Regions from separate parts of the Homo sapiens genome. Here region 1 is linked to region 2. Evidence: promoter capture Hi-C in 16 types of primary human blood cells and fetal thymus (Javierre and others, 2016). All regions are on one chromosome and are shown on one strand. The core of a region is centred on a gene start or on the middle of the fragment in contact, and the rest is flanking DNA. Distances in the headings are between cores, read along the strand shown. Region 1 holds the start of CIDEA (cell death inducing DFFA like effector a). Region 2 holds the start of GNAL (G protein subunit alpha L).

What was found. Contacts are between HindIII fragments. The CHiCAGO score rates a contact against its expected background, and 5 or more counts as called.
Region 1: a fragment that was not itself captured here is called in contact with the fragment with the promoter of GNAL in region 2 in 2 of 17 cell types (M2 macrophages and M0 macrophages); the score reaches 7.3 in M2 macrophages.

What each region holds. Positions count from the first base shown.
Region 1 is chr18:12,254,340-12,259,311 of GRCh38, reverse strand. It overlaps CIDEA (cell death inducing DFFA like effector a), which reads right to left and starts at 4,951. Exons shown (of 5, transcript NM_001279.4): 1 at 4,891-4,951. The coding sequence starts at 4,928. LOC105371996 (a long non-coding RNA gene) reads right to left here and starts at 4,299. Exons shown (of 2, transcript XR_935158.3): 1 at 3,881-4,299; 2 at 1,856-3,733. RefSeq lists an enhancer at 553-1,053. The HindIII fragment of the contact is 816 bases long and covers 1,871-2,686 here.
Region 2 is chr18:11,686,511-11,691,334 of GRCh38, reverse strand. It overlaps GNAL (G protein subunit alpha L), which reads right to left and starts at 2,071. Exons shown (of 12, transcript NM_182978.4): 1 at 1,396-2,071. The coding sequence starts at 1,771. RefSeq lists an enhancer at 1,680-2,180 and a silencer at 2,119-2,268. The HindIII fragment of the contact is 5,620 bases long and covers 951-4,824 here.

The sequences.
Region 1 (4,972 bases), core at 1,029-3,528, 570 kb before region 2:
TGGCTGAAAGCACAGCAGCGCTTCGAGTTCATGCCCTCAACGCCTTTCCCTTCTGGGTAGACAAAGTTGCTACACAGTTTGTTTTCAATGAGGCAAGCCCGAGGGAAATGTGCTGGGTTGGGGCTCCGGACCTGTCAGAATGACCCGCACACGTTTGCCAGGGACCCACCTAGCCAATCAGAGCCTCGCCCGGCCGGGCTGTGCACCAACGCGGCCCCAGGACTGGCACACAGCTTCTGAACTGTCACCTCGATTAAGAGAGTGACGCAGGGTTCTCAGTTACACAATGCCATAAACAACACTGCTGTGCTGACACCACGGGGAATTCGGGCACACTCTCACTCCTGGTGACCCGGGGGGAGAGGGCGGTGAGGACGGGCTGTGTTACATTTCACGTTCAGAACCCTGGCGTCGCCTCCACCTCATCATGGCAGCTGAAATTTAAACTAGCTGAAGTCCCCTCAAGGAGGGTGACAGAAAGGCCCAAGTGCCGCTGGATGCCAAACCCTCGTGTGTGAGAGCTAGCGCCTTGCCTTACCACTCCTTGGGATCCACCTTACAGTGAAACCTAGGCCTGGGGAAAGCAGGAGGCGAATCGTCAGGGCAGCAAAGGCTAGACCAGGGTCTGAATCCAGCTCCGGCTTCCACCCAGCGGTGCGGCACCTGGCCAGAAGACGCGGCTCCCACAAGAGAGAAGGGCCCGGCCTCAGCAGCGAGAAAGAGCCCCTCTTCGCCCCCAAGGCAGGAAGTCACCACAGTCTTGCACAAGGCCTCTAGCATCTGTCTCACGGAGTCTGGCGGTGCATCTCCTACTTTCCCACAGCGCCTGTCAGCACGCCATCTATTTACTGAGTGAAAGATGCTAGGCCAAAATCAGAGAAATGAGAGAACATGGTCCATGTCTTCCAATGCTAGGTCCAGCCCCAGTGGTCAAAGGCGCAGCCCTGGCCCTGCATCTCCTCATTGGACGAACATGCTCACGCCTTCGTAAGCACCTGTGCTCCGGTGACCTGGCCCAGATGATTAATTCCAGGTTCCTGCGGTCTTTACCTGTCTGACAAGATAAGAGCTGGCAACCATTTCTGGTTCTCCCTGCCTTCACCTGCCCTCAAGATTGCCATCGTCAGTGAAAAAACACCTATTGTTCTCACCTGTAGCATTTCCAAACCAAGAGCTGCGTCACTGCTGGAGGAAAGGCTGGTGGGGGCACAGAGGAAAGGAAATTTACACCCCACCTTCTTGTCAAGGAGGAGGTGAGTGATTTCTGGGTCAAATTATGTAAAATCAAGGCTGTCTCATATGTAACACAGAAAGGGGTTGAATGAGATGTTCTGCACGCCAGGCCTATGTACTCCAGGACCCTACAGGTACCGAATCTGCTGCTACATGAACAAGCCACCGTCTCCACCCAAGTCACCTCCAGCCCGCTGAGTAGAGTCATCTCTATCACTGGCCATCAGCACCGTGCCTAAAAGCAGGGCCACTGAGCGGCCCTAGGATCCTGCGTTTAGACACACCACACATGAGAACTGCCGCTCCTAATTCCTGTGAAAGTGGGGGCACACAACCACAGGAAACAGAAAGGGAAATAACCCTCTAACAGGGAAGATATAAGGAAACAGTTTGTTTAAGGAAGTAGGCTGTTTCACAGAAATCCAGAGAGGAAAAGTCAGACTTCATAGAACGCTGTGAAACGGCATGTCTCTCAGGAACAGGTGGGAAGGGAAGGTTTTGTATTCTGCCCCGAGGGAGGCAGGGCGCCGCCAACTTCCAAAAGTGTGTGAAATACACCAACAAGCCACAGACTGACAGTAGACCTGAACTCTTCTCCAGTAAAACAAACCTGAGCCGTACAGAGAATTAAAAAGCTTTCTTTACATGCCACCTATGGAGGAAAAGGGCCCAGTATTAAGGTCTTCCTCAAAGTGAAATATTTTGGTGTCATGGGTGAGGGGGCAGCAGTACAGGCTGTGTAAAATAGTGCCTGGGAATATTCAGGGGGCAGTGATGGCTGAGGGAACTCTGCATCTCATCATTAGGAAGAAAAAGAGGCAGCCACCGTGGGAGGAAGAAGCAGTACACAGGAATTGGACAGAAGCCAACCGAGCACTGTCACCAAGAGCAGCAGGGAATGCCAAGGAGGGAAGTGTGAGGTCAAGCACAGCCACGCAGAGAAGGAAGGGAGGGCTGGGAAAGTGCTCCACAGGCCTGGAGAAGAGTCCCTGAGCTGTAGAGACAGTGTCAGAGGATGGTGGGGTCAGTGGCAGGAAGCAGGGAAGCAAGTGCTGCCTTGACGAGACTTCCTGCTGCCCGGCTCCCCTAGGGCTCTTGGACGTGACATATGCAGGTGGGAGCACACCTACCCCCCAGATAAACTCGCCCCGACAAGGACTGCCTGGTTCATGGCTCAGTTCTTCGCAAGCTACCTAAAGGCTTGACATTATCAAGTGTTCAATACATGACCATGAAGTCTTTGAACACTTTGCAGTTTCGTTAAAATAAGAATTTAAATTCAAGAAGCAGAAAGCTGAGAGATTGACTTGTAGCATACTTAATTCCTTACTAATGTCACTAAGAAGACTGGTGAAATTTGTACTGAAATAGCAGCACAAAACCTAGAGTTCCTTGTTCAAGGAAAGGAAAAATGTGCTAGATAGCTATGAAAGCAGCCATTTCACACGAAGCTTATAACATGTACCAGCTTCATAACAACTTCAGCGTTTGGCAGGAATGTTATCACTGGCAGAACACAGGAACAGAGCAGACTTTGTCTGTGATAGTCAACCTGCATGTGGACCTCCTTGATGTCTGGAGCTTTGTTGTGAGACCTCAGGCTGCTTTCCTCAGGACCAAGGCCCCTAACGATTCTAGCTGACTAACAAATGCCTGGGTTAAGGTTTCACCACTGACTACAAGTACCTGATTTTTAAAAATTTTTGTGCACATTGATTCGGTTCTTTCCTTGGTAAAATGTAGTTACTAATAAAGACAGAATTATGACATCCTGGACCTGGTTTAAATTAAGGAACCCTGAGAGGAAGCCGAAGTCCAGCAAGAGCACAATTAGCAAATATGTTAGGACCTGGCCTCTGGCTCTTTTGCCCGGACAGGGTTTTAGAGAGGGGCAGGGAAGAAAAGGTGTTTTCCCTTCAACAAGAATTACAGATTGTTTTCTTCCAGTTTAGTTTGGTAACAGGTAGATTTCACAGAATGACAGTAGTCCAGCCTGGGAGCAGGTAGATTTCACAGAATGACAGTAGTTCAGCCTGGGAGCAGGTAGATTTCACAGAATGACAGTAGTTCAGCCTGGAAGCAGGTAGATTTCAAAGAACTGCAGCAACAGCTTGTCCATAACAGGTAGAGTCATTCACTCCTGGGATGAGCCAAGCTGGAAGGAATGTGTCCTAGGAGACTCAAGGTTTCCCAATGTTTCATTTGTCAACAGCTCATAAGCAAGTCACTTCCACTTCACACGACCTCACAGAGACCCCACACAGATGCATTTTGGATTTTGGTGAGCTGTTATAATAGTCAGAGGCAGGGACAGGCTCAGCCTGAATCCTGCTCAGAGGCCAACCAGGATTGGTTAGTGCGAGTCAGCCCACACCTCCTTCCCCCATGCTCCGGAGGAACAGTGGGTGTGTTGTGAATTCACTGGAAAAGTGGTTGGAAGGACGCATTCCAAACTGCTAAGACCTCCCCTCCTGGAAGTGGGACTGTGGTGTGGATGGTTCTGGAAGAACGCAAAAGATACAGGGCCCTGACCTTTAGGCCTAAGCGTGTTAATGACCATACACGAAGCAGGTGTTTCTCAGCGTCCCCCTGCCACCGCCCCGACTTGTACTGTGGGCTTATTTTTAAAGAGAAAGATGCTTCTAACCTGCAGTGTCTACAACAGCTCCCATTTAAGAACCCGGGATTGGAAGCTCATAGATTGCGTTTCGTAGCCGGACCGCTCCCTTTCACACATGTAGTCTCTCTGCCCGCCACACGTAGCACACACAGTGGGACCCGGCGCCGCTGAACGCCTGCACCTTCAAGCCCGCAAATGGTTCTCTATCCTTTTCCAGGTACTTGATCTTCAGAGAAACACGATCTCCCTCTTAGACCTTACTTTACAGTTGCTGCCACGCAATGACTTAGGATTTTACCAAGAATTGGCTTGGGTCTGTTGGGATATGAATATTAACCCAAGCAGGAAAATAGCCAATGCTGCCTGTTCGACCACGAGCGGGTGCGAAGCGCAGGGAAGACTCCTCAGGGTCCACCCGCCCCTTGTCCCCCCTGCTCCCCAGGCAGCGTCTCCGCCCTTGGACCCGGAGGCAAGGAGGAGCGCTTCTCCCAGCACCACCAACCTGGAGGGCTCCGCCGGACGGTTGGGGCCTCCCCTCGGAGACCAGAGCCCGCGCTTCCAGGAGGGGCCAAGCCTGGGCCCCTCCCGCGCCCAGCTCCCGTTGTGATTTCCAGGACCCCCAGAAGCCCGGTCCCCTCGCATCGCGGAAGCTTTGCTCGGGGTTCCTGGGACCGGACCCTCTTCTGCGCCCGCGACTGCAGCAGCGGCCAGAGATGCATGCAGCCACTCGCCAGCTGTCACCTGGTTTGCAGACGCCCGCGCACCTCGCAAGAGCCACACCTGGTACCTGTGCCCAGCTGCAAGAGGGTGAGGAGGCGCGGGACGGGATTGGGCTCTGCCCGCGGGCGCGGCTGGACGGCTTGGGCACCAGTGGGGCGGATGGGTGTGTGCGCGGGGTCGCGGAGCGCAAGAGAATGCGGGGAGCAGGGGGCTGAAGGGAGCGGGGTACGGTACTAGAGGCGCACAGGGGAATATGAGGCCACCGAACGCAAGGCGATTGGAAGCGCACGGCAATCAGGGGGACGCGGGGCACTCGCCTGATGAGGGCTCCTGCATAGTCCCGGGCGGCCTCCATGGCGCGGATCCCCTAGCGGGCCTGGAGGTCTGTCTGCCTGCACA
Region 2 (4,824 bases), core at 822-3,321:
CAAACAAATTTACAAGAAAAAAACAAACAACCCCATCAAAAAGTGGGCAAAGGACATGAACAGACACTTCTCAAAAGAAGACATTTATGCAGCCAAAACACACATGAAAAAATGCTCACCATCACTGGCCATCAGAGAAATGCAAATCAAAACCACAATGAGATACCATCTCACACCAGTTAGAATGGCAATCATTAAAAAGTCAGAAAACAACAGGTGCTGGAGAGGATGTGGAGAAATAGGAACACTTTTACACTGTTGGTGGGACTGTAAACTAGTTCAATCATTGTGGAAGTCAGTGTGGCGATTCCTCAGGGATCTAGAACTAGAAATACCATTTGACCCAGCCATCCCATTACTGGGTATATACCCAAAGGACTATAAATCATGCTGCTATAAAGACACATGCACACGTACGTTTATTGCAGCACTATTCACATTAGCAAAGACTTGGAACCAACCCAAATGTCCAACAATGATAGACTGGATTAAGAAAATGTGGCACATATACACCATGGAATACTATGCAGCCATAAAAAATCATGAGTTCATGTCCTTTGTAGGGACATGGATGAAATTGGAAATCATCATTCTCAGTAAACTATCGGAAGAACAAAAAACCAAACACCGCATATTCTCACTCATAGGTGGGAATTGAACAATGAGAACACATGGACACAGGAAGGGGAACATCACACTCTGGGGACTGTTGTGGGGTGGGGGGAGGGGGGAGGGATAGCTTTAGGAGATATACCTAATGCTAAATGACGAGTTAATGGGTGCAGCACACCAGCATGGCACATGTATACATATGTAACTAACCTGCACATTGTGCACATGTACCCTAAAACTTAAAGTATAATAAAAAAAAAATGCAAGTGCAGCTCAAGTTCTTTCTCAAAAGGCAGCAGGCCACACCCACCCACAACACTGTGATTGGAATAAAAGCTTTGCGGTCAAGCTAAAAGGCCTTATAAATCTCCTTTCATCTGTGTTCTTAAAACAAACTGCCAGCCTCCTCGTGTAGCAGGAAGTGAGAGGCTAGGGTAGACATCCCCGGGGATTCGACCCTGTGGAAGGTGATCAATCGAGGGGGAGACTTCCCAGAGAGGCTCATTAATTAGAGAGAGCGAGCGGCAGTAAGCTCAAGGCACTGGGAGGGGCAGAATCAGCCCGTAGTGTCCTCCCGGCTAGGTCAGGGGAACCATTCCACCCACAGTTTAAACGCTCTGTAGCCCGTCCGCGCCCGCCGCCCGTCCGGGTCCAGTCCCGGGATTCAGGAGCCCCTCCCGCCGCCGCTCCCCGGTGCCCGCCACCGCTCCCCGGTGCCCGCCGCCCCCGCGGGCCCGGCGCGCTGTCCCCGGGGCGTCAGCCGACCTCGCGGCCGGGACCTACCGAGCAGCAGGAGCCGGTGCGTCTGCTGCAGGTCGCGCTTCTGGTCGCGCAGCATGCGGTCGATGCCCCGGCTCACTTTCCTCGCCTCCTTGACCGCCTCGCGCTCCTTGGCCGCCTCGCGCTCCTCGGCACTCAGCTGCTCGGTGCGCTGCCGCTTCTCCTTCGGCTTGTCTGCTTTGGGCCGAGCGCATGCCGGGCTCCCTTCGCCGCCCCGAGGGAGCAGGGTCCGGGCCGTGTCCCTTGCGGCCGCCCGGACTGGGGCCAGGGCCGGGGCCGGGGCGGGCTGCGCGTCCTCCACCGGCGGCTCCGAGGCCGCGCAGGGGTCGTCCCCTGGGCCCCCGAAAAGCAGCGGCCGCAGACTGTAGCACAGACCCATGTGGGCGCGGCACAGCGGGGGCGGCGCGCGGGACTAGGGCAGGCTGGGCGCCGAGGGCGGCCTGGTTCCCGCGCCCAGTTCAGGCCGGCGCCTCAGCGGAGGGGCGGGAGGGGGCTGCACCCGGACCCTGTTCGGCGCTGCCGGCCGCCAGCTGCGGGAAGGGGGTGCGGCAGGCCGGGGCCGAGGGCCACAGCCCCTCACTGCCCCAGAGGGTCATTTTGCATTTTCTGCTGTGTGCAAGGGGTGGCGGCCGCCTTGGCTGGAGATCACTTGCTAACGCCCAGAGCGGACCGAACCGACGGGCCTCCGCGAGCCCGGCCCCCGTTACCGTAAATGCCGCCGCCGGTCCAGCCCTCGCTACCGTAAATACAGCTGGCTTTCGTTACCGTAAATACTGCCGCCCAGGCTGGTCCCCGTTACCGTAAATACCGTCGCGCGGGCGAGTATTCTGTACCGTAAATAATGCCGTCTGAGCCCGGCGCGCAGCTGCGGACAGTGCCGCAGTGGCTGTGCACTCAGCACCTGGAGCCGCAGTTGCGGCAATCAGAAAACCAGGGTGGCTTTGATCTTGGGCGATAGTAACCGAGGACGGAAAGCTGGGTGTAGGAATAGAGACCGTGGCTTTAAAGCCTTCAATTTCCCCAATCCATTTCTTGCAGAGATCTCTGCACCTTGCCACTCCCTTTTCTGTTCATTATCTTACACCCACGTCTGCACACTCTTTATCCCTACTTTAATAGTACTATACCTTTGATCTCTACAAAATCTCCAATTCTGGAGTCTGGTCCACGACACCATTTTCAACAATCTCCACCCTTAAAAATGAAAACCGAGCACATATAATTGCCATGTACTATTTATATTTGCTGAAATGAGAATATGAGATTATACACTGTATTTTCTTAATCCACAATATAGGGCAGAGAGGAGCAGATGCGCCTTCAGACTGGGTGCGCTCTCTCCATGACGCTGAGAAACAAGCCTGCCAGAGGTGCTATGTCTTCGGTTATTTCCCGCTGAATGCATAGCATCTTATAGAGCTTCTGCAACAGGTGAACATTTCAATATAGCTTGTGAAAAACCTGCTGTAAGATGTGTTCCTTGGAAAATGACATGGAATATTATAGCTGATAGTTAAATACATCTCTCATTAACACACCAGATTAGGCTGCTTAATGAAACACAGCATGCAGCACAGTGTGCACTGTACCCGTTGGCACTAGATGTAAATACTACATTGGATTACATTTTTTCTTTTTGAAACAGTCTGGCTCTGTTGCCCAGGCTAGAGTGCAGTGGTGCAATCACGGCTCACTGCAACCTCCGCCTCCCCGGTTCCAGTGGTTCTACTGCCTCAGCCTCCCGAGTAGCTGGGACTGCAGGCACCCACCACCACTCCCAGCTAATTTTTCTTTTTTTCTTTTTTTTTTTGAATTTTTAGTAGAGACGGTTTCACCATGTTGGCCAGGCTGCTGGTCTCGAACTCCTGACCTCGAGGGATCCACCCACCTTGCCTCCCAAAGTGCTGGGATTACAGGCGTGAGCCAGCGCGCCGGGCCTGGATTACATTTTTAAATCAAGAAGTTGGAGATCCGGCATTCACATTTCTTTTGGGGGTCCTACTGATAACAAATGTGCATACATGTACTACTTTTGACCTAACATTGTTCCCCAAATTTTGCTAAAATTATGGCATACTTTTAGATATTTGAGCAAAAGAAAGGAGGACTATAGAAAATCTAACTTGGGAAAATAGAAAAAGTTACTAAATATCACTGTCATTTTCGCTATTCATTCACTCATCCATCTATCCATTTATCCATTCATCCATTTAATTAAGTGCCTACAGTACCCTAGGCATTCTTGTTGGTGCTGGGTGAGGCAAAGACAGGGGTCCTCATGGAATTTATAGACTAATGAGGTAGAAATATACTCAATCATAAAAACACAGGTAAATATATTAATTGTAAATTACGCTAATGCCATGAAGGGAAAAAACAGGATTCTCAGAGTATAAAGGAAGGTCCTGTTTAAATCGAGATGGGGAAGAGTAGTGTGTGAGGCAGGAAAGGCTTTTGAAGAAACTGAGACCCAAGAGACTTACAGCAATTGCTTTTCTATTATAACTTATTAGCTAAACTTTATCAATATCATACAAGAAGGATAATATTTTGTATACTAAAGTCAGCTGAAAATGAAAACAAATATTTTATGGATTTTTTTTTTTAAGACAGGATCTCTCTCTGTCACCCAGGCTGGAATGCAGTGGCATGATCATAGCTCACTGCAATATAGAACTCCTGGGCTCAAGTAATCCTCCTGCCTCAGCTTCCAGAATAGCCAGGATTACAGGTGTGCACCATCAGGCCTGGCTAATTTTTTTAATTTTTATTTTGAGTAAAGACGAGTTTTCACTATGTTGTCTAGGCTGATCTGAAACGCCTAGGCTCAAGGGATCCTCCCACCTTGGCCTCCCAAAGTGTTGGGATTATAGGCGTGAGCCACCACACCAGGCCTAGAGTGGATTTTTATACTTAAGTACGTCAGTTAAAATGTGGCCCCTCATTGAATAATAATTTCAAGACAGTGATAGCAGAACATTAAACCATGTGTGTGGCCCTTGTATGAATTTGCAGGTCACAGGCCCATGAAGCTGGCTGTACTTTCTGACTTGAAATGTCACAGAATACAATTTGGAGCTGGGAGAAAAACCAGACCATTAGCAGTGAAATCCTAGAAGGAAAGAAACTTCAGAGGTGTGACCCCCTCACATTTGTATATCAAATCTACTCAAATCTTTGGCAGATCACTGAACAACAATGGATGGGGGAGACCTCAGTGGCCTGACAAAATACTAGAAAAGCTAAAAGAACAAAGATTTCAGGTGCTTCTCACTTTAGGGGAGACAGAGTTTGGAGTCTGAGTCAAGCCAAGTGAACTTTTTATAATAAGAAAACAAAAATCATTCATTAGAGAAATAAAACAGAACTCCAAGTCTCTACAACATATCATTCATAATGTCCAGTGTCAAACAAAAAGCACACTAGACATGC